2 separate regions of the Homo sapiens genome follow, and region 2 is linked to region 1. Evidence: promoter capture Hi-C in human tissues and cell types (Jung and others, 2019). All regions are on one chromosome and are shown on one strand. The core of a region is centred on a gene start or on the middle of the fragment in contact, and the rest is flanking DNA. Distances in the headings are between cores, read along the strand shown. Region 1 holds the start of ANKDD1A (ankyrin repeat and death domain containing 1A). Region 2 overlaps CSNK1G1 (casein kinase 1 gamma 1).

Region 1 (4,709 bases), core at 1,639-4,138:
GGGATGGTTTTGGGATAAAATTGTTCCCCTTCGGATGATCAGGCATTAGTTAGATTCTCATAAGAAGTGTGCAACCTAGGTTGGGCATGGTGGCTCACGCCTGTAATCCCAGTACTTTGGGAGGCCGAGGCAGGTGGATCACTTGAGGTCAGGAGTTTGAGACCAGCCTTACCAACATGGTGAAACCCCATCTCTACTAAAAAAATACAAAATTAGCCGGGCATGGTGGCGCAAACCTATAATCCCAGCTACATGGGAGGCTGAGGCAGGAGAATTGCTTGAACCCGGGAGGCAGAGATTGCAGTGAGCCATTGCACTCCAGCCTGGGCAACAAGAGCAAAACTCCATCTCAAAAAAAAAAAAAAGAAGTGTGCAACCTAGATTCCTCACATGCACAGTTCACAATAGGGTTCACCCTTCTATGAGAATCTAATGCCACCACTGATCTTTCAGGATGCGGAGCTCAGGTGGTAATGCTCGCTCTCCTGCTGCTCACCTCCTGCTGTGTGGCCCAGTTCCTAACAGGCCATAGACCAGTACTAGTCTGAAGCCTGGGGGTTGGAGACCCCTGGGATTAGGGATCTGTGATAGTAATTTGCCTTACACAGTTGCGGAAGGACCAGAAGGGGAGTTGGGGATCAGAGGAGTCCTTAGTCAGTCATCTGAGAAACCAAGTATGTCCAGCTGCTAAAATGGAACCACAAGGGAAAGCTCCTGGGGAGGTCTATGGGTGGTACTAATGCCCTGGGTCTGCAGCCAAGTCCGCGATGGCCTGGGGCCACTGTTGGTCAGCAGGCTCAGCAGCTGGGAAGAAAAGCTGGATGTGGAGTGAAGGAGAGTGACAGCAGGCTGGAAGCCAGTGGTGCCCTCTTCATCCATCACCACAGCTGACTATGACAACCTTCAGAGACTTAACTTTGAAACATGTAAATACTTTACATAATTGTAAAGCAAAATTAACATTTAAAAATATCAAAAAACAAAAGCAAAACAAAATAAATAAACCATGCATGTTGAGTTGGTGGCATAACCACATAAAGAACTATTCCAAGTGACTAAAACAGTAACGTGACACTATGCCCCTAGTGGGATGTACATGTGACAAAAGCTTTACAAAAAACATTTAAACTGTTTTCAGGAATAATATCTTTGGCTAGGCGTGGTGGCCAAGCACTTTGGGAGACCTAGGTGGGTAGATCACCTGAGGTCAGGAGTTCGAGGCCAGCCTGGCCAACATGGTGAAACCCCCGTCTCTACTAAAAATACAAAAATCAGCCGCGTGTGGTGGCACACACCTGTAGTCCCAGCTACTTGGGAGGTTTAGGCATGAGAATCGCTTGAACCTGGGAGGCAGAGGTTGCAGTGAGCTGAGATTACGCTACTGCACTCCAGCTTGGGCAACACAGTGAGACTCTGTCTTAAAAAAAAAACAAAAACAAAAAGGGGGGGGTGCGGCGCAGTGGCTCACACCTGTAATCCCAACACTTTGGGAGGCCAAGGTAGGTGGATCACCTGAGGTCAGGAGTTCAACACCAGCCTGACCAACATAGTGAAACCCCATCTCTACTAAAAATACAAAATTATCCAGGTGTGGGGGCGAGTGCCTGTAATCCTAGCTACATGGGAGGCTGAGGCAGGAGAACTGCTTGAACCCAGGAGGCAGAGGTTGCAGTGAGCCGAGATCATACCACTGTACTCCAGCCTGGGCGAAAGAGTGAGACTCTGTCTCAGAAAAAAAAAAATCATATCTTTGATTATTATGTTGGAATTGTTATTTTGAGACCATTTTGAGGGGTTGGCTCAGGGCTCATTAATTGTTAGCTGTTATCATTATGTTATTTTTCAAAGGCCATTCCAAATACCTCCTTCTTCAGGAAGCCTTCTTGAACTATATTCTAAGGACTAATGACTGAAAGATGCTCTTCCTCCTTTGATCCCCAAAGTAGTAGTAACTACACCTATCATGGCTTTGCTGGCTTCTTGCCTTGGGATAGAGATGCCTGAGACCCCATTATCCCTAAATTCAAAGAAGCTGTAAATGCCTTTAAGGCAAAAAGGACATGGACATCCCCCAAGGGTCTGAAGTGCAACCCATTCTGGTGTATTTAATGTGTATCTTTTTGTTTCTATGTGTCTTTGCAAGTCTGTGTTGTTTGATGTAAATGCATTTGTAATATTTTTATTGATATTGTTTCCTAGGTCTTATTTGGTTTGGTTATTTACTTTTTCTGCCTAGCACTAGGTGTTTAAATCCATATTGCCACGAATACAGCGGGTCCCTTGCTTTGAGTGCTGCACAGTTTATCCATCTGCTCTTACAAGAAAGGGCGCTTAGATTGTCTCCAACTCCCAGCAACCACAGCAACACAGCAACCAACATCCTCCTACATGTCCCTTTATGGGCCTGATAAATCTTTCTGAACACTGATAAATCCGACCATCTCTTCATATGCTTGCAGACCTGCTGAGGTTGTGGTCCCTTAAACGCCAGCTCACATCTTTGGGGTTTGACTTTCTGCGCCTGAGGCGGCGGGCCCAAGGCTCAGCCCTCCTCCCCGAGTCCCGAGAGGCGCGAGGAGGATGAGCCTGCCAGATGCCTTGTGCGCATCTATCTCCAGGGCCGGGGAGGCTGGGCGAACTCCCGGGGAGGAGACTGGGTCAGGGACACCTGCGGAACTCGGCGTGGCCCCGACCCGCCGGCCTCGGGCGCGGAGGGGTGGGCAGGTTAAGAGAGCAGGAGGAGGGACCTGCGTCCTGGTCCGGGACTGGGGTGGCCGGGGCAGCTGCGCTCCTAGCAGGCGGGGCGTGGAGTCTGGAGGAGCGACCGCCCCGTCCTCTCGGCTCCCCGGGCCCCGCCCCGGCGGACGCGCGCCTCGCGCCCGGGCACCAGCGCGCGCAGGGGCTGCGGAGCGGCAGGATGCAGGAGGAGCTGGCGTGGGAGACCGACGGCCGTGAGTCTGCCTGGAGGAGGGAGGGGGGCGGGCCGAGGCCGAGAGGACCCCCGCATCCGTTTGGGGAGTGCCAGGGGTGAGGTTGGCGCCCTCCGAACGGCCACCTCCGTGTGGGGCGTCTGTGTGGCTCCGAGCGGAATGGTTACCGGTCCGCGCACTGGGCCGAGGGGACCTTGCCAGTGCGTCTGGGACTCGGGGACCACACCCGCCAGGTGAGCGGGGAGCAGCGGCTGAGAGGTTAGCTACAAATAATAAAGGTAATAGCGATCCTTGACTGCGTGCTGTACTTTGTGTGCCAGGCCTTGACCCAGGAGAGGCACGTCATTTGATCTTCGCTGCGGCCATATGGGTAGGACATTATGTTATCTTCATTTCGCAGATGAGAAACTGAGGCACAGGGTGTTCAAATGAGTTGTTCAAGGTCACACAGCCATTGAGTGGTAGAAGTGCTGAAGGGCCCAGCTCACCCGGAATGCTGGGGCTGGATAGCGAGTGGAGACCGCATCAGATGGGGCACGCACTCAGAGGAGAGGAGCCTGACTGGCCACAGGTGGAATGAGGGCACCTCCGAACCTCCCTCAAGGAGTGCGCCCAGTGCCAGGGCCTCTAGGCCGGGCAGCAGCGTCTGTGTGGGCATCAGCTGGCCTGGGGCAGCTTTGGCTGCACCGTCTGGGAGAGGGGAGAGAAAGATTGTGTCGGTGTCTGCACTGTGAGTCCTTGATCCTGCAGCCCTGGCTGAATCCTGACAGCTGAATCCCGGGGCTTTCCCTCAAAAGCGCATAGTGCAGCTCACTGGATTCCTTTGAGACCTATAGTGTCCAAAATGCTGGCACACTGCATCTACTCAGCTGAGGGATGTGTTGGGGGTGGGAATGCTCAATCAAGATTAGGTACATGGTTCTGCCTGGGGCGGAGGATCACTTGAGTGGGCCTGCGAAGAATGTGTACCAATGGAGCATTGGGGTGTGTGGCAGAGAATTCTGGACAAAGACCCAGCATGGGCAAAGGCTCAGGTAGCTCAGTGGGTATTGGATGTGGCCAGAAAGAGGGTGCCGGATGGGAGGTGGATGGAAGAGATGAGACTGGACTTGATTTCATTCTAACTTAACCTTCTCTGGCCTGACCCTATGCAGTGTCTGCTGGCTTCCCATTGGAACTCCTGGCTGTTTGCCAATACAAACCAGGCCAATCCCCCTAAGCTGCACATAAGATAGAGGGTGCCAGACAGGAAGGGACCTATACAGATCTCTTTCTTCACCCTCCCCCAGTTTTACAATGGAAGAAACAGACCTACAAGGGGGATGTGACTAGCCCAGGATCCTGCTGCTGGAAAGTGGCAGGGAAGGTACTAGAACCCAGGCCTCTGTAAGCTCACATCTGAAGTGGCAGCTCTCTTTGGCTACCAGAATTTGACCCTTTGCCTTGGAGGAATAATAGTGATGATGATGGTGGTGGTGGTGGCGGTGTGGTCATTATGTGCCAGACACTGTGCCAGGGGGTTTTCATATCTCATTTCTAATCATGATATTAACCTTGTAGGGAAGCTCGCACTCCTGTTTTGCAGATGAGGAAACTGCCTAACACAGCTAGGAAGTGGTTAAGCCAGAGTTGAACCCAGGACTGTGTGATTGCCCCCCAGGGTAGCAACTCTGAGATCCACAGGTTGTATCCATGAGGCCCCAGAAAGCTCAAGATCCTCTTTCTCATCTGGAGAAGACTGTGTGGAATTTATCTAGAAAAACAAACTGCATGGCAGGC
Region 2 (4,709 bases), core at 960-3,459, 640 kb before region 1:
GGTTGAACAAGCTTGGTCTAAATGATGCTCTTAATTAGCGGAGAACAGACTTAGTTAGGAGAGTAAACAATATCATTCCACGCTACTATGATGCATTCCTGCAAATTCTCACTAAACCTAAAAGTGATAGACAAATTATAAAATGCTTCTTAGCTTCTATTTTCACATGTATATAAAAGAGTATAATCACAGAAGTATAATAAGTGAGACAAGCCTATGTAACACCCAACATAGTGGCTGATACATCACAAAATGCTAGCTTGCGTTTACTTAATTTCTCTAAGGGCACCAAAAGAATCAAATACATGTTACCCTTTTTCTTAAGAGGCACTGGAGGTGACTTGATAAGTCTCCTGAGCTAAGCATTGCCTCAAATGAATTTCTTTGCAAGGGCACAAATGCATCATTAAAATTTTACAGGTCAACACAAAATGCAGCCATGTTTCAGAAATTTAGACAATCACTCAGCCACTATCCTAAATAATACACAGTACTCAAAAATTTTGCTCCAGATGAATTTAATTACAAAGATTATGTTAAAACCCTGCCCATTTAAAATAAATAACTGCTTCAGCTAAAAAAATAAAAATAAAAGCATACCAATAACTATGAGGAAGGAAAGCCATTTAATGGACAGAAAAGTACCATTGATGAGCTGGCACAATCCCAAGCACTGAAAGCTTTTAGTATCTGTTGCACAAAATCCACAACGCTTCCCAAGCTCACTTCCTGGCTATTGGTTCCTTTATTCTTAATAGAAAAGGAACTGCATTACACAGTAGTTTTTGGAGCTTTATATTTAAACTCAGCCCTTTCAAAGCAGCAGTCCTGGATGTGATGCTGTCCATAAAACCCTCTGCATGAAGACTTCCTGTTTCTGTAAGTCACCTACAGAGACAACATTCACCGTAAGCTTCATCAGACACTGCATTATTTCAAAGAACTAGGAGTTCTCAGTTCTCAGAGCCATACTGATAAAGGAACATACAGTCTGTTTAGTTAGAGCTCCAGCTGTCACATTTTCTTGCCCTTCAGTGAAAATAGTACATGTATAAATTACTACCTAGAACTTGTAAAAAATCCAGCCAAATGAACTTGAGGCAATTAGTAGTTAAAACAAGTAACTACTTTTATATAACTCAGATGATTACCATGTCTATTTAGGGCAAAGAGGACAGGTTGGCCTATTGCCACCTCCACCCAAAAAGCATCTCTTCTTTTTGTGGAGACACAGTCTTGCTATGTTGCCCAGGCTGGAGTGCAGTGGCATGATCTTGGCTCACTGAAACTCTGCCTCCCAGGTTCAAGCAATTCTCCTGCCTCTGCCTCCCGAGTAACTGGGATTACAGGTGCATGCCACCACACCCAACCAACTTTTGTATTTTAGTAGAGATGGGTTTCACCTTGTTGCCAGGCTGGTCTCAAACTCCTGACCTCAGGTGAGCCTCCCGTCTGGGCCTCCCAAAGTGCTGGGAGGCATGAGCCATCTTGCCCGGCCCAAAGAGCATCTCTTTAAGTGAGCAGTATGATTAGGGGTAAGAAGATAACGATAGCAATACAACTCTAAAGAAAAAAAGCAGATAATGTTTTCACTTTTACTAACTTAATAGTATTAAAATATTAGTATACTATGCAGAAACATTTCCCAAATGATTAGTAGTTAAGGCAAGAATAATTTTTTCTTGTGTCAAGTTTTTTAAAGGGCTTACCTATCAACAACAATAAGTACATTATAATAAAAGAAAAACTTATTAAAGCTTAATATCACTGGGATGGTATATACAGCATGTTTATTATTAACAAGACAGACAATGCTCAAATGTTTTCTAAAGTGTAGAACATGATCCATTAGTGGGATATAAAGTAAATACATTCAAATATTGATTTTAAAGAATGTCTTGACCAAATTTTTTAAAGAAAAAATATATAAAATAAAAAGTATCAGAGTACATTATACTCAGTAAGGATAAAATATTATTTCATGAAACTTCATATACACAGATATTAACTATGTGTATATTAAATCACAATTTTTTTAGTGTGAGTTATGATCAAAGAATAATAAGAGCCATCAATAAAAATCTTCTAAAAAGCAGTTTCAATTATTTCATTTTGCAATGAAAAGCTGGTCAGTGGCTGGACTAGTTTCTATATAACTTTCCTAAGGTATTACACATGATATTCTGATTAATCTGTTAGTAAGAAAAATGAGAGTGCTTCTAACATCTGAAAGTCTAAAGTGAGGCTACGTGGAGTGAGGTAAAAGGCAGCCAGGGCCAAAAGAAAGGGAGAAGTTGAAAGTCATTTATAAATAGCATCAAAGCAGGACTCATACTCCATTTTTCAGAAAGTGTCTATGTACTTTCAAGGGCCTATGCTTTACAAAGAAAATTTGTAAAATGTTCTATATTATAGTGGTGGGCAGAAAAACTGGAGTGAATCATTCTAGAAAGTATGATTTTCTGCAGCAGAGAAATACCAAAGTATTTTTGTATTTTTAAAATTTTTATGCATAACTTCAAAGGCATATGATTTTCCCCCATGTAACCTACCCAATTTCAGTAACTTTATTATTTTGAAACAAATCTCAGATGTTACATCATTTTATCAGTAAATATTTCATTATGGGTCTGAAACAGAATTGAAGTACTTTTTCAGAACAGACGGATCATTTATTATTTGAAGACCTCTAGAATATGAATGTGGAAAATTAAAAGGTCAAATGGGAACCCATGAAAATGAAAAAGAGTGACGTACCAATGAGATATTTCAGCCACCCAGGTAGGAAAAAAAAGGTACAACAGTCCTTTGAAAAATAAAAGAGTTGAGGCTGGGCACGGTGGCTCACGCCTGTAATCCCAGCACTTTGGGAGGCCGAGGCAGGTGGATCACGAGGTCAGGAGATCGAGACCATCCTGGCTAACACAGTGAAACCCTGTCTCTAATAAAAAATACAAAAAAATTAGCTGGTGGTAGTGGCGGGCACCTGTAGTCCCAGCTACTTGAGAGGCTGAGGCAGGAGAATGGTGTGAACCCGGGAGGCAGAGCTTGCAGTGAGCCAAGATCGCACCAGTGCACTCCAGCCTGGGTGACAGAGCGAGACTCCATCTCAAAAAAAAAAAAAAAAGAAAAAGAAAATAGTTGAAAGTGAAAAAACAATCATGAACAGAGTTCAAGGTAAAGCAATCAATTCCGGAAGAACTAGAACCATGCAACGTCAGTGACTTGAACTTGATCATTAGACAAAATAGTCAAATATATTTTCCTGCCAATAAGAATATAGACCTCTATTCTAGACAGTGATGCAAGTTTTGAGAGGAAATATAGATGTTATTAATAAAGTTGGAGGCTGGGTGCTGTGGCACAAACCTGTAATCCAAAAACTTTGGGAGGTCAAGGTGAGAGAATCACTTGAGGCCAGGGGTTTGAGATCAGCCTAGGCAACAAAGTGAGACTCTGCCTCCACAAAAAAATTAAATAATTAGCCAGGCATTGTGGTGCACCCTTCAGCCCTAGCTACTTGGGAGGCTGAGATGGGAGGATCCTTTGAGTCCAGGAGTTCAAGGTTACAGTGACCTGTGATTGCACCACTGCACTCCAGCCTGGGCAACAGAGTGAGACCCTGTCATTCATTCATTCATATGTACATACATAAAATAATACATATACACACACTTTTACCCCTGCTACAAGTTTTCATATTGTTATTAATATTAAAATAATAAAATTTAATATAATAAATATATTAATATTAATATATTTAATAATATATTAATATTGGTATATTTAATATATTAATATTAATATATTTAATAATATAGCAATATTGATATATTTAATAATATAGCAATATTGATATATTTAATAATATATTAATATTGATATATTTAATAATATATTAATATTGATATATTTAATAATATAGCAATATTGATATATTTAATAATATATTAATATTGATATATTTAATATATTAATATTGATATATTTAATAATAATATTGATATATTTAATAATAATATTGATATATTTAATAATAATATTGATATATTTAATATATTGATATTGATATATTTAATAATAATATTGATATATTTAATAATATATTAATATTGATATAGTTGAATAATATATTAATATTGATATATTCGAATAATATATTAATATTGATATATTTGAATAATATATTAATATTATTTTATTATCTATTAAAATATATATATTTTTTGAGATGGAGTCTCACTCTGTTGCCCAGGCTGGAGTGCAGTGGTGCAATCACAGCTCACTGCAACCTCTGCCCCGCCGGTTTCAAGCAATTCTCCCACCTCGGCCTCCCGAGTAGCTGGGATTACACGTGCCCACCACCACTCTTGGCTAATTTTTGTATTTTTAGTAGAGACAGGGTTTTGCCATGTTGGCCAGGCTTGTCTCAAACTACTGACCTCAGGTAATCCACCCGCCTCGGCCTCCCAAAGTGCCGGGATTGTAGGCGTGAGTCACCACACCCAGTCCAGGGGTAAAAGTATATATGCATGTATGTGCGTGTGTGTGTGTGTGTGTGTGTGTGTGTGTGTGTGTGTGTGTATATATATATATATTTTTTTTTTTTTGGACACAGAGTCTCATTCTGTCACCCAGGCTGGAGTGCAGTGGCACAATTTCAGCTCACTGCAAGCTCCGCCTCCCGGGTTCAAGCGATTCGCCTGCCT

What was found. The method cuts DNA at HindIII sites, captures the fragments that hold promoters and counts their contacts. A contact is called where the count stands out against the background at its distance.
Region 2: a contact is called between a fragment that was not itself captured here and the fragment with the promoter of ANKDD1A in region 1, in 1 of the 25 tissues and cell types used here (dorsolateral prefrontal cortex).

What each region holds. Positions count from the first base shown.
Region 1 is chr15:64,909,014-64,913,722 of GRCh38, forward strand. ANKDD1A (ankyrin repeat and death domain containing 1A) reads left to right here and starts at 2,889. Exons shown (of 15, transcript NM_182703.6): 1 at 2,889-2,951. The coding sequence starts at 2,918. RefSeq lists silencers at 2,117-2,411, 2,485-2,534, 2,735-2,914 and an enhancer at 3,101-3,644. The HindIII fragment of the contact is 17,737 bases long and covers 1-4,709 here.
Region 2 is chr15:64,273,836-64,278,544 of GRCh38, forward strand. All of the region lies in intron 2 of CSNK1G1 (casein kinase 1 gamma 1), which reads right to left. Among named protein-coding and RNA genes, the nearest start is that of CSNK1G1, 80 kb to the right of the region's middle. The HindIII fragment of the contact is 3,728 bases long and covers 346-4,073 here.